5 separate regions of the Homo sapiens genome follow, and all the other regions are linked to region 1. The links are contacts of gene promoters, found by promoter capture Hi-C in blood cells and fetal thymus (Javierre and others, 2016). All regions are on one chromosome and are shown on one strand. Each heading gives the region's core, a stretch centred on a gene start or on the middle of the fragment in contact. The rest is flanking DNA. Distances are from core to core; before and after follow the strand shown. Region 1 holds the start of CCDC62 (coiled-coil domain containing 62). Region 2 overlaps RSRC2 (arginine and serine rich coiled-coil 2). Region 3 overlaps KNTC1 (kinetochore associated 1). Region 4 overlaps KNTC1 (kinetochore associated 1). Region 5 overlaps KNTC1 (kinetochore associated 1).

Region 1 (2,753 bases), core at 181-2,680:
TGAGTAGCTGAGACCACAGGAGTGCACCACCACGCCCAGTTTAAAAAAAAATTTATTTTTTGGCCAGGTGCGGTAGCTCACACCTGTAATCCCAGCACTTTGGGAGGCTGAAGTGGGTGGGTCAACTGAGGTCAGGAGTTCGCGACCAGCCTGGCCAAGGTAGTGAAACCCATCTCTACTAAAAATACAACAAAGGTGGCGTGGTGGCGGGCACCTGTAATCCCAGCTACTCGGGAGGCTGAGGCAGGAGATTTGCTTGAGGCCAGAGGCAGAGTTTGCAGTGAGCCGAGATTGTGCCATTGCACTCCAGCTCAGGCAACAAGAGCCAGACTCCATCTCAAAAAAAAAAAAAAAAAAAGTTTTTTAGAGGTGGGTGTCACCATGTTGCTCAGGCTGGTCTCAAACTCCTGAACGCAACAGATCCTCCTACATTGGCCTCCCAAAGTGCTGGGGTTACAGGCCACTGCGCCCAGCTTTCTTGATTTTAAATTCTAAGACATTGCTTTGGTCTCCCAAACATGAGCCTATCAGTAAAGCTTCAAAATAAGAAATCTTAATTTTGTTTTTCCATTTTCAGATTGTATTTTTTGAACACAAGGGCATGTTTTGGCATTTCATATTCAACCAAAAAGTAAAGTTGAAACCCTGTAAGACCGACCGTATTTAGTAATTGTGTTGCTGTCTGATGGGTTAAGCATTCAGGGATGGGCAGCCGGGGCTGAAGTGTGATAAGCCTTATTTTTTCCTAGTCCCGTTCCCACATCTTAGGAAGAGTGAAAGGGGGATGAAGAGGTGACTATGGAAGAACAGGTGAAAAAGCTTAGATTCAACCCAGAATATCGTAGATTTTGTCATGACAAAGTACCGTGGTTCTCCTCATTGCTTTTCAGGAGCTCCCAAGAGTAAATTTCCCCCTCTTCATCTGTGATTCTTGGTTTAAAGTATCAAAGGTGCTAGGGTAGCCCGCAACTGTTATCCCCGAGGGCTGGGCTCTGCCTCCACGCATTCGAGTGTCAGGTCCTGTTCTGGGAGCCAGCTACACAGGAGCGAGCACGGCCGAGCTCACGGTTATTAGGGGGAAGATGGAAGATAGGGAAGTGAGCAACTCAAATGTCATAAACCAGAGTGCTGGGGGCGGCGCAGCAGCCTTTATTGACTTCTTCATTCTCTGGGTAGTGGTGAACAGCCGGTTCTTTCAGGCCTTCCAGCGCCGGAGCCTCGGGCGTGGGCAAAAAGCGTCCATACGCAGCCTGAGCCACTTGGGAGCCCCCAGTTTCCGAGGCAGAAGAACAGTGCCCACCAGCGCAGCGGGGCTGCGGCCCGGAAACCCTGGCGGGGAGCCCCGAGCCCCGGCGGGCGCACGCCGCGTGGGCACCAGGCAGGCGGTTGGAGTACGGGGCGGGGGTCGGCCGAGGGCGCGGGGCCCCGGGGCTCCGGGCTCGCCCCCGCCGCTCGGGGCAGGCGCGCCGATGGCGTTTCTGAGGTGACGCCGCCCACACCGGGCTTCTCCGGGGGCGGAGGAAACACCTATGAACCCTCCGGCAGCCTTCCTTGCCGGGCGCCAGGTAAGCAGCGGTTCCGGGCGCGGCGGGGCGCCGCGGGAACGGTGCACATTGGTCGAAATCTATTGCTTCTCAAGAACGGTGTCTACTTAAAATGTGAAACAGGCCGGGCGCGGTGGCTCACGCCTGTAATCCCAGCGCTTTGGGAGGCGGAGGCGGGCGGATCACGAGGTCAGGAGATCGAGACCATCCTGGCTAACACAGTGAAACCCCGTCTCTACTAAAAATAAAAAAAAAAAAATTAGCCGGGCGTGGCGGCGGGCGCCTGTAATCCCAGCTACTCGGGAGGCTGAGGCAGGAGAATGGCGTGAACCCGGGAGGCAGAGCTTGCAGTGAGCCGAGATCGCGCCACTGCACTCCAGCCTGGGCGACAGAGCGAGACTCCGTCTCAAAAAAAAAAAAAAAAAAAAAAAGTGAAACAATACACTAGAGGAAAACGGCGTCACGACCGTTTCCTTAACCCAATAACACCTTGTTATTCAGCCCGGGCCACAGAGTAGCGCGTACCCGGTGCTTACTGTTTAAGGAGGACGATTGGCGTCTGGGGAGCTGCTTTCCCATTTACCTCTCAGGGTGTCCTTAATTTACACAACCTGGCGAGTAGAGGAAGGAGCTCTCACAACTCCACTGTACCAAAAAGTCTGGAAGTGGGCTTGCCCAAGGTTCGCGTCCATCAGTGTAAGACGACCTGCCTTTGTGTACTCGGCTTACTGCCTGTTTTCCTGGAGTGGAATATGTGCTCCTTGCCTGGAGGTCTGTGGCCCAGCCACTGGCGCTCAATAAATTATTTGTTGAGTGCATGAATGAAGGGCTAACCCAACACTGGAATTCAAGCCTTGGGACTTGAAATCCCTTGACTCCAAATTCCATTTTCCTTGTTAAGACTAGCAACTGTAATTTATTCATCATTCTTATTTATTTATTTTTGAGACAGGGTCTGGCTCTGTCCCCAGGGCTGGAGTACAGTGACGCAATGTCGGCTTACTGCAGCCTCTGCTTCCCGAGTTCAAGCAATCCTCCCGCCTCAGCCTCCCAAATAGCTGGGACTACAGGCTCCCACCACCATGCCGAGCTAATTTTTGTGTTTTTAGTAGAGACAGGGTTTCGCCATGTTGGCCAGGCTGGTCTCGAACTCCCGACCTCAGGTGATCTGCCCACCTCGGCCTTCCAAAGTGCTGGGATTACAGGCGT
Region 2 (2,753 bases), core at 1-2,500, 250 kb before region 1:
CAGAAGAATGTTCTTTGTCATTATGTTCCTCAGACTTATGTTTCTTAGAGGATTTATCTTTGGATTCATGTCTTCTTCCCTGTTTTAAGAAGAAGTTGGTTCTTTCAGGAAAATAGTGCAACAAAGAGAGTTAGTATGGGTATCAGTAGACAAAAATGTTGTGATGCAACATTAGTAACCTTAGGAGTGTGTGGCAAATAAAAAAAAGATCTAGTTTCACATCACCCAAATGTTGCAGATGTAATTACTATTTTTTTTACTATAAACACCCAAAATGTAGTTCCTCCCCAAAATATTTTCAATACAACAGAAACAATGATTTTTAAAGTTGAAATATTGAAAAGCCATTATGCCAGACAAAAGAGGAATCCCTTATGTTTATCTAAAAGAATACAGACCATGTATATACATCAACTTCTAAATCCAGATTACATAATGTTAAGTTTAAGTAAGTAATGGAGATAATGACACAAAAAGTGCACCAGAAACGCATTTCAATTAGGTAGCTAAATATAATTATTACTAAGTACTAATATTTTCTATAATTTCAAATTATTTTACACAGAGATGCAGTGTCCCTTTTACAGTTATACTGCCTGCTACATCCTCTAAAAGACAGCTCTTGATTTTCCTCCCAATGTCTAAACTGTGAAGCAATCACTTTTCATCTTGCAGTATCCCAATAGGCTTAGAGGAGTATTACACTTCATGTACCTAGGGTAGAAATGGCAACTGTATGTTTCAATTTTAAAGAAACCAAACTAGGTATAACAATCCACATGCCATCACACAATACATACTGCCCCCACACTTTAAAAAGACCAAGGCCTTCACATGTGCATTCAGAGACTCAGCTCAAATTAACTGCATGATCAAGTCTCATCCTACCAAATACCAAAGTAGAAGTGCTACATACTACAGTTCCCTACAGGAAGATCTGTCAAATTCATCTTGTAGTGAAAGTTTAAAATCCTAGACATCTCTGAATCACTAAATTTTAATTCTGGAAGGAAACTAAGATCCTCTAACTTAATCCCCTTATTTTATGTATAACTAAGATCTAAAGTTACAAAGCTACATGGGTGAGCTGAACCTTCCCCATGTTTTTCTGATGCCCACGCTACCACTTTTCCACTGTAATAAGACACTACTGTCTCCCAAAAGGCCATAGCATGTTTCTTTCCACTCACGATTAATGTTTCTTAAAAATAAAACTTGGCCAATCATTTTGGAACATGCATGATGATTTATCTGAAAATGATCATAGTACATAATTTATTATTTGCAGAAAAATAAGAGACCTGGAGACACAATTAAATTTTAGTTTCATTGCCAGTTCTCTATAGGAGCTTAGAAAAGAAATTTTCCTTGGTTTTGCTATAACGAGGCAGACTGGAAAAGTCTTAAGTGGTTAAACTTCTAAAGGTTTTAAAGTTTATTTCAAACCAGTTTTTCAAACATAACATTACTATTAATTTAAAAAAAACATTAAAACCCTTAACTGATTTAAGATATATTTAAGGGAAATAGGAGTTTGAATGACTAATAGTTACCTTATCATGAAGTAGGCTTATTATTTTGCTATCTGAGTCTGCAGCGTCTTCAGTTCAGTCTCTTCGCGCATAAGCACGCTGAGTATGATTTATTATAGAAATGTTATCATGTGAGCTAAACAAAATAGTCATTTTCACAAAAACTCTCCTAAATTAAAAATTTAACAGAGCTTCCATTACGGGAAGAGGTGAAGTCCCTGCCCACTCTTGTTTTAGGAGTCCCTTACCCAGCCCCCACAAGACTCTTCTCCCTTTCTGGCTACTACTTCTACACTTCCTTATTGGCTCATTCTTTGTCTTCTCAGGTGGGTGAACAAGTAACTCCTTTGCAATACAGCTGCTGCCTTTCTTTTTCCTCAAGTTTTGGTGTCACCGCCACCTTTTCAGCTGTCCCTCACTCAAACCTTTATTTCAAAATTCAATACTACTATTAGGGAAACTGAACTAGTTTGCAAAAGAAAAGAGAACTCCTGTTATCGTTCATAAGGAAAAAGCAGCGCACAGATATCTAGGGTATTGCTATGTAAAGATGATTGCTGTTTAAAAATCCTGAGCAACTGTCAGGCACCAGGAGACTCGGGACCTCAGATTAATGGAAGCTCTGTGTGACAGGCCTAAAAAAACCAATCATATTCTTCATATGAAATTTTTATTGTGAATATTTTCACAATATAATAAAATTAAAGTTTTGAAGGTACTTTTCACATAAACATCTTCTTCAAAAATGATGAATCAAAATCATGCTTATTTTATAACCCAATAAACCTTTTAAATTTCAAGTTTTGTACTTACCTTGACAACGTCTTATATTCATACAAATCTTTCTACCAGACACTTTATAAGTATTTTAAAGTACCTATTCACTACAAAGTGTTAATTACCTCTTTGCTTCTGCTCCGGCTCCTGTGTTTTCTTCCTTCATTATCTGTGAATACACAAAAAAAATAATCACCATAAACAAAGTTGGAGAAACATTTCATCTTAAAAAACTCTTAATGCTGGAGAAAAATGACTCCCATTAGTCTTCTTCCAATGACTAATTTTTTCATGGCACGGGTGGGATTATTCTACATTAATACAACACACATGTGAAACAAATCAAGCAATCTGAGCAAACCAGGACATAAAGCAGCCTAGATACATCTTTTAAACGGTCATAGACTTTCAGTATTTTACATATATTCTGACCAGCCCATCTAG
Region 3 (2,753 bases), core at 94-2,593, 240 kb before region 1:
CTGTCTTGTCCCTTCCCTCTTTGCTTTGTTTTCTGTTACCTTGGCCTTCTTGCTTTTGCATGAATACAACAGGCACTTCCCACTCCATGATCTTTCCTTGAGCTGTGTCCACCATCTGAATGCTCGGAATGCTCTTCATCTTAGTCATTTGGCTAACTTCCTCACCTCTTTCATGTCTCCTGTGAGCTTTCTAATTAACACTGCAAAATGCACCATTCTTCTGAGCTCTCTTACCTGGCTCTACATTTTTTTCCCCAGAACATCTATCACCTTCTTACATGTCTCACAGTTTGTTTATTATGCTAATTGTTTATCAGCTATTTTTTTTTTTTTTTGAGACGGAGTCTGGCTCTGTTGCCTAGGCTGGAGTGCAGTGGCGTGATTTCAGCTCACTGCAGCCTCCACCTCCTGGGTTCAAGCGATTCTCCTGTCTCAGCCTCCTGAGTAGACTGGATTACAGGCACATGCCACCATGTCCGGCTAATTTTATATTTTTAGTAGAGACGGAGTTTCACCATGTTGGCCAGGCTGGTCTCGAACTCCTGACCTCAAGTGATCTGCCTGCTTCGGCCTCCCAAAGTGCTGGGGTTACAGGTGTGAGCCACCACGCCTGGTCATTTATCAGCTATTTCTGTCTTAGAATATGAGCTCTGTGACGGTGGTAATCTTTTGTTACTGTTCTCAGATATATGTAAAAGGCCTAGAACAAAGTTTACCATATAGTAAGTGCTCAGTAAATATTTCTTGACCAGCTGCATGCAGTGGCTCACATCTGTAACCTCAGCACTTTGGGAGGCAGAGATGGACAATCGCTTGAGCTCAGGAGTTCGAGACCAGTCTGGGTAACATGGCAAAACCTCGTCTGTACAAAAAATACCAAAAACTAGCTGGCCATAGTGGTGTGTACCTGTGGTCCCAGCTACCTGGGAGGCTGAGGTGGGAGAATTGCCTGACTGAGCCCAGGAAGTCTAGGGTGCAGTGAACTGGGGTGGTACCACTGCACTCCAGCCTGGGTAGCAGAGCGAGACGCTGTCTCAAAAACAAAACAAAACAAAAAATATTTGTTGACTGAATAAAAGTCAACAACATTCTTTTTTACTTTCATCACATCTGTTTTGCAGTATTTAGAAGTAACTTAAGTAATCGTTGGCTTTTTAATGAGAAAAATTTGTATTTTTTTTGTATTGAAAATAAAGATTTTCGAAGGAAGCTTGTAACTTTGATTTGAAATTTTCAGATACTGAAGTGGATGTAGTTGGCCTTTGTCAAGAAGGAAAGTTTCTTTTGGTTGGCGAGAGAAGTGGCAACCTACATCTTATTCATGTAACATCAAAACAAACACTACTCACTAATGTAAGATCTTGTTGTATTTTAATTTTCATTATTTAAATTCTAAATAATCTCTTAGACAACTAAAACTCTAGCAAACTATTACTTAACATGTGTTTTAAATTAAAGCAATGTTTTTTTGAACAATTAAGCTTTGAAGGTGTTACCACAGCTTGGATCCTGAGTTCTTGGCTCTCGTGTAAATAGAAATTAACACCAGGTCAAACAGAAATTTTCCCAGGGAATGTTTAGTAGGCTTGTGGCTCAAGGAATCTCAAGGAAACAGCGTATGGGAAAGGGATCCCAAGTGCTAGCTCCCCGAAGGGCTTAGCTCTTGTCATTTTGAGGAAGCTGAGGTGAAAAAGGGAGTGATTTGTAGGCATGTAGAGGCAGGGAACTTTTAGCGCCTGTGAATTTTGGTCGCATCCTTTTTCATGTGTTGTATATCTCACTAGCATGTTAAATCTCCATCCCTGGGTGTGATTTTTAGTATCATAATTAGGTTAAAATTAGGAAATACTTGGTGAAAGGCCAGGGTTGAAGTCCACCTTGTCTTCAGCTGGCTGGATCTGGTCAGGTGCTTAGCAGGACTGCTAGAATCCTGATTTAGTAACCTTGGAAGATGGTCAGGTTTTTATTAGGAATGCTAGAGTCCCACTTTAACAACTTTGGGAGAAGTAACTCCAGGAGACAAATGGTTAGGTTCTTGTATGGTTGGGAATTCAGCTTGGTCAGCTAACTCAGGAGCAGGCAGCTTTCTGCTGTTTGATTCCAGTCAGCTTGTTAAGGGAGGCAGGAAGGTAGAGGAGGGAATGCCCAGACATATGAAGCCTTTGGGGTCTTGGTTACCATGTCTCTTGCCTGCCAGGATTGAGTTTCTTCCCTATACTGAATGGTATTTTAAATTAAAAAAATGTTTTTTTGAAAAATTAAGCTTTGAAGGTGTTACCACAGCTTGGATCCCGAATTCTTGGCTCTCACATAAATAGAAATTAGCACCAGGTCAAACAAAAATTTTCTTAGGCCAGGTTTAGTAGGCTTGTGGCTCAAGGAATCGCAAGGGAGCAGTCTTGAAGGTATTTAGTACACTTGTCCAAAATAGTTTTCCATTTTAAAAGTAAGATGTTTAGAATATAGGCAGAATTATTGCTAATGATAATTGATAACTCTAGAGTTTAAAGAATAAAATCCTTGATTGTATTTTTCTATGTTTAATTTTATTATTTGAAATTAATTTGCATTTAGGCATTTGTTCAGAAAGCTAACGATGAAAATCGGCGGACTTACCAGAATCTTGTCATTGAGAAGGATGGTTCAAATGAAGGTAAGTTTTCCTGAATTTTTTTTTGAATGACTTTTTTTTTTTTTTTTAATGGAGTCTCCCTTTGTCGCCCAGGCTGGAGTGCAGTGGCGCAATCTCAGGT
Region 4 (2,753 bases), core at 172-2,671, 190 kb before region 1:
CCATCCTGGCTAACATGGTGAAACCCTGTCTCTACTAAAAATACAAAAAATTAGCCAGGCATGGTGGCATGTGCCTATAGTCCCAGCTACTGGGGAGGCTGAGGCAGGATCGTGGCGGGTTGCAGTGAGCCGAGATCACACCACTGCACTCCAGCCTGAGCTACAGAGCAAGACTCCGTCTCACAAAAAGAAAGAAAGTAACAACTGCCTGATTTCTTCAGTCATAAGGGTAGGGCCAGTGACACTCTTTTTTCACAGAAGCAATTCTTGATTTCTCACCTTCAGAGCATATTTTGGGCCTCAGTGTCAGAAAGTAGTAGCATAAAAGGCAAGTAAGCAATACTGCAGAGTTAGGTAACATAACCATTAAATTTAGGTTACTGTGCACTTCAGCATTTAATGGTATCCTTAGTCATTTGAAAAACAGGCTGGGGCCAGGTGTGGTGACTCACGCCTGTAATCCCAGTACTTTGGGAGGCTGAGGTGGGCAGATCACTTGAGGTCAGGAGTTCAAGACCAGCCTGGCCAACACAGTGAAACCCTGTCTCTACTAAAAATACAACTGTTAGTCGGGTGTGGTGGTGGGCACCTCTAATCCCACCTACTCGGGAGGCTGAGGCAGGAGAATCGCTTGAACCTGGGAGGTGGAGGTTGCAGTGAGCCCAGATCGTGCCATTGCACTCCAGCCTGGGCGACAGAGTGAGACTCAGTCTCAGAAAAAGAAAAACAGGCTGGGCACGGTGACTCACACCTGTAATCCCAGCAGTTTTGGAGGCCAAGGCAGGAGGATTACTTCAGCCCAGGAGTTTGAGACCAGCCTGGGCAACATAGTGAGAGCTCATCTCTACAAAAAAAATTTAAAAATTAGCCAAGTGTGGTGGCACACACCTGTAGTCTCAGCTACTTGGGAGGCTGAAGTGAGAAGATTGCTTGACCCTGGAGGTTGAGGCTGCAGTGAGCCATGATTGTGCCACTGCACTCCTGCCTAGGCGATAGGGCTAGAGCCTGTCTCAAAAAAACAAAAGAAAAACTACACTATATACCATGAGAACATTTAAAAGACATTTAATGTGTTGATGGTGGTGGTGATATATTAATCCAAGAAAGGCCATGCGTTCACTTTCAATGTGAGTATTCTAACTACCAATACTTTCTTTCTTCCAAAGCGACTTGTTTAAGTATCACTGCAATGCTGACACTGGGAAATTGCTATTTCTGACATGTCAGAAGCTTTGTCAGATGTTGGCTGATAATGTCCCAGTGACAGTGCCTGTGGGACTGAATCTTCCTTCCATGATACATGATCTAGCAAGCCAAGCTGCCACCATTTGCAGTCCAGGTGACAATATTTATAATATACGTAGTTTTATATTCTCTGGTTCATGTCATACTTGTCTCCCAAATGCTGTCTCTTTACAATTGGACATCACGGTAATCAGACTAGAGATAGTATCTGCATTTCACAAAGGGATGCTTATAATTGATTCTCTTTGAGGATTATTGTTTGAAAGTATTTCAAAATACTAACAATGTCATTTCTGACTGTTGACATTACTCACTTTTGTAGGATTATGAAATTCCTTGCCTCCCATATCTGATCTTATTTTCAAGTCAAGCTTGAGAAAAAATTTAACTTTTTAGGGTAGTCAAAGCTATATGGAACCTTTCTATCTACATTGTGGCCTTCCTTAGAATTTTAAATGGTAATTATTAAAAGGTTGTTTTCATTATCCTAAAGACATGAAATATGAGTTTAATGATTTTTCTCCATTTTGTTTCAGATTTTTTACTAGATGCTTTAGAACTATGTAAACATACTTTAATGGCTGTAGAGCTTTCCAGACAATGCCAAATGGATGACTGTGGAATCCTCATGAAAGTAAGTTACTTTTGAGTTTTTTCCCTTAAATCCTGGGCAACGCATTATGCACCTTTTTTTTTTTTCGGACAGGGTTTTGTTCTGTCACCCAGGCTGGAGTGCAGTGGCATGATCAAGGCTTACTGCAGTCTTGAACTGGGCTTAAGCAGTCCTCCCACCTCAGCCTTCTGAGTAGCTGGGACTATAAGTGTGTGCCACCACATCTGACTAATTAAAAAAAAATTTTTTTTTTGCAGAGACAGGGTCTCACCATCTTGTCTAGGCTGGTCTTCAATTCCTGGGCTCAAGTGATTCCCCCACCTCAGCCTCTCAAAGTGCTCGGATTACAGGCATGAGCCACTGCACCTGGGCCGTTTTTTAATCATTTGCAAAGTTTATGAAAATACTGAATCCACCTCTTATGTTTTCTTACCCTAGACCGGAAAACAACGTAAGGGCATGAGGCCACTTCTCTGTTCCAGTCACTTGATTGGCTTTAATTTGCACTATCTTTCAAAACATTGGGCCTCCAGCAAGGCCTCCCTCGACATTGTCCTTCTGTTAGAGTTTAACTTAAAATGAAATTTCTATAAGCCATAGACCAGAAGAAACAATGTGTTGTGCAGCGTACTGAGTTCTCTCTTTTTTGTATGATTTGGCACCTAGGCTTCTTTTGGGACACATAAAGATCCATATGAAGAGTGGTCTTACAGTGACTTCTTCAGTGAAGATGGAATTGTTCTTGAGTCACAGATGGTGCTTCCAGTGATTTATGAACTGATTTCATCTCTTGTGCCTCTAGCTGGTAAGTCTTATTTGTATCATTATTTTCTATGTGTTTCTGTCTTATGTAAATTTAAACTGTAGAGGTTTGGAGCTAGAACTACACACAGTA
Region 5 (2,753 bases), core at 119-2,618, 150 kb before region 1:
GGAAATAGAAGGTTTCATCTTGCATGTCCCTTGCAAAAGGTCGCATTTTCATTTCAGCAAACCTGTAAAGCATGAATACATCAGATATGTGTGAAGCTTGTATGGGGGCTTAGTGGGAGGTAAGACTGAAAGATAGATTAAGGTCCAGCTGAGGGCTGTCTTACAAGGGGTTTGGGCCTTATTGTCTATCAGTGGGGAAACAAGTGATTATTTTAGAACAGCAAACTGAAATGATGAAGGAATTATTTTAAAAGGAATAACCCATTAACCCATGTAGGCTTGGACAGAGGAGAGGACAAGAAGTGAAACAGTTGGGAAGATGTTGCATTTGAGTAGAATTTTATCCCACTTGATCTCTTCATAGCAACCTTGTGCATAGGCAGGGAAGGCTTGAGGGTTAAGTACCCATGATAGGGTCTGGTAATGAACTTGAACAAGACAAGAAGGCTACAAGGAAGGCAGCAGACTTAGCAATTGAATGTGGGAGATAGAAGAGGGGGAGAGTCAGATTTTATGTGTGGGTGCCCATCAGAAGGAGCCACAAGCATTTTGGGGATAGAACTTTTAAAAATAACTCTCATTTCCTTTATAATAGAGAACAAGTAGAACAAAGCATTTTGGAATGTTTTACAGTTATCTTCCCTGCAGGTAGATATACCAGTAGATAGAGATCTACATAAATGAACATACATGCATTCAGGCTTTTTCGTTTGTTTGTTTTTTGTGTTTTGTTTTTTGAGAGTCTCTGTCACCCAGGCTGGAGTCCAGTGGTGCAATCTCAGCTCACTGCAGCCTCCCTCCCGGGTTCAAGTGACTCCCAAGTAGCTGACGTTACGGGCTCCTGCCACCACGCCCGGCTAACTTTTGTATTTTTAGTAGAGACAGGGTTTTGCTATGTTGGCCAGGCAGGTCTCGAACTCCTGACCTGAGGCAATCCGCTGGCCTTGGCCTCCCAAAGTGTTGGGATTATAGGCATGAGCCACTGCGCCCAGCTGAACATGCATATTTTTTATTTGTCATTTGGCTTATTAATTACATTTTTAAAAGCCATCTGTTCTTGTCTTTGACTTTTTCCCCTCTTTTCATCATTCATACACTCATTCCTTGATGTCGTTCAGTGTTTCAGTATTTAAATAGATTTCTTTTGGCACTTAGAAGAGCAAAATACCTGATCAACGGCTCTTGCTGTTGGAATAAATAATAACAATTTTCTATTAATTCTGCTTTGATTTTTCTCTAGAATTTTCTGGGTTCCTGTGACCCTCAGGTTATTTTAAAGCAATTGGAAGAGCATATGAACACGGGCCAGCTAGCAGGATTTTCACATCAAGTAAGAGGCGATTTCATCTCCTTTTTGCTATGAAAATGTTGATACTAGAAGGTAGTCATTTTCCCAAACCAAGAGTAAGCTGAAAACTGCTATGTCTAGCTGTTTGTTTATGTATAGAATTATTTTGCTTTTACTAAAACCTCAGTAAATTTTTTAAGAGGCAGGGACCCTGAGCGTCTTGTTGACTGCTGTACTCCATGGAAAATTTGTAGCCTTAAGTGCTTTTAATTGAAAACAGATCTTCTTCCTCATAAAAAGTCTCAAAGTGCACAACAACAATTACTTTATTTATTGACTGATGCTGACAGGCCTCCTTTCCCTTTTTACCCCCTCAAAAAGGAGGCGCAGTCACAATGCAGTGCTAATTGGGCTTCCGATTGTCAGAAATGTTTTGATATTGAATAAAGGCTTGATACCTGTCATTCTATAGATTAGAAGTCTGATTCTAATAGATTAGAAGTCTGATCTTAATGATACCTGTCATTCTATAGATTAGAAGTCTGATTTTGAATAATATCATCAATAAGAAGGAGTTTGGGATTTTGGCAAAGACCAAATACTTTCAAATGTTGAAGATGCATGCGATGAATACCAACAATATCACTGAGCTAGTGAACTATTTGGCAAATGACTTAAGGTAAGTTAATTAAAAAAAAAAAAACTTACTGTGGAATTTCCTTAAAATCTATCTTTATAAGCTGGGCACGATGGCTCACGACTGTAATCCTAGCACTTTGGGAAGCTGAGGTGGGTGGATCACCTGAGGTTGAGAGTTCAAAACCAGCCTGACCAACATGGAGAAACCCTGTCTCTACTAAAAATACAAAATTAGCCGGGCATGGTGGCACATACCTGTAATCCCAGCTACTAGGGAGGATAAGGCAGGAGAATCTCTTCAACCCGGGAGGCAGAGGTTGCAGTGAGCCGAGATCGCACCATTGCACTCCAGCCTGGGCAACAGGAGCGAAACTCTGTCTCAAAAAAAAAAAAATCTATCTTTATGTTGGAGCAGAATGTCAACTGTAGAGCTATTTGGTTGTAATTAAAAGCTCAAAATATTACATCTCTCATTACTGCACATATCCAAAAGTTAATCATTTAATAACCCAATTTCTTGGAATATGACCTTAGAATCTGACAATTAAACAGGTCATCTGAACCCCCAAATCAAGTGTCTCACAGCCCTGTTCTAAATCCTACATTACAATTTTATGTCTAGACACTTGCTCAGAACATTAATGACTTTATGTAGCATCACTTTTGTTAAACCTGGTTATCTAATTTTCCAGCACCCACAAGTTTAGAAACAATAAGCTTCTTGGGATAGAGCTGGGGGTGGATATGGAAACTGAACGGGAGAAGGAAGAAGTGGGCTGACACTAAAGAAAGGGAAGTTCAAGACCGCAGTACACACCAGATCCAT

What was found. Contacts are between HindIII fragments. The CHiCAGO score rates a contact against its expected background, and 5 or more counts as called.
Region 2: a contact is called between a fragment that was not itself captured here and the fragment with the promoter of CCDC62 in region 1, in 1 of 17 cell types (endothelial precursors). The highest score is 5.1, in endothelial precursors.
Region 3: a contact is called between a fragment that was not itself captured here and the fragment with the promoter of CCDC62 in region 1, in 1 of 17 cell types (M1 macrophages). The highest score is 5.0, in M1 macrophages.
Region 4: a fragment that was not itself captured here is called in contact with the fragment with the promoter of CCDC62 in region 1 in 1 of 17 cell types (M1 macrophages); the score reaches 6.0 in M1 macrophages.
Region 5: a contact is called between a fragment that was not itself captured here and the fragment with the promoter of CCDC62 in region 1, in 3 of 17 cell types (M2 macrophages, M0 macrophages and M1 macrophages). The highest score is 5.7, in M2 macrophages.

The regions. Positions count from the first base shown.
Region 1 is chr12:122,773,142-122,775,894 of GRCh38, forward strand. It overlaps CCDC62 (coiled-coil domain containing 62), which reads left to right and starts at 1,431. Exons shown (of 13, transcript NM_201435.5): 1 at 1,431-1,565. The coding sequence starts at 1,530. RefSeq lists silencers at 1,269-1,478, 2,001-2,295 and enhancers at 1,578-2,271, 1,659-1,798. The HindIII fragment of the contact is 6,061 bases long and covers 818-2,753 here.
Region 2 is chr12:122,518,951-122,521,703 of GRCh38, forward strand. It overlaps RSRC2 (arginine and serine rich coiled-coil 2), which reads right to left. Exons shown (of 10, transcript NM_023012.6): 3 at 2,435-2,478; 4 at 1-79. Among named protein-coding and RNA genes, the nearest start is that of RSRC2, 6.6 kb to the right of the region's middle. The HindIII fragment of the contact is 5,031 bases long and covers 1-2,753 here.
Region 3 is chr12:122,537,102-122,539,854 of GRCh38, forward strand. KNTC1 (kinetochore associated 1) reads left to right here. Exons shown (of 64, transcript NM_014708.6): 4 at 1,238-1,353; 5 at 2,575-2,653. Among named protein-coding and RNA genes, the nearest start is that of KNTC1, 11 kb to the left of the region's middle. The HindIII fragment of the contact is 271 bases long and covers 1,209-1,479 here.
Region 4 is chr12:122,583,112-122,585,864 of GRCh38, forward strand. KNTC1 (kinetochore associated 1) reads left to right here. Exons shown (of 64, transcript NM_014708.6): 35 at 1,167-1,339; 36 at 1,782-1,879; 37 at 2,525-2,663. Among named protein-coding and RNA genes, the nearest start is that of KNTC1, 57 kb to the left of the region's middle. The HindIII fragment of the contact is 386 bases long and covers 1,229-1,614 here.
Region 5 is chr12:122,620,641-122,623,393 of GRCh38, forward strand. It overlaps KNTC1 (kinetochore associated 1), which reads left to right. Exons shown (of 64, transcript NM_014708.6): 61 at 1,241-1,330; 62 at 1,822-1,967. Among named protein-coding and RNA genes, the nearest start is that of MIR9902-1, 74 kb to the right of the region's middle. The HindIII fragment of the contact is 2,548 bases long and covers 95-2,642 here.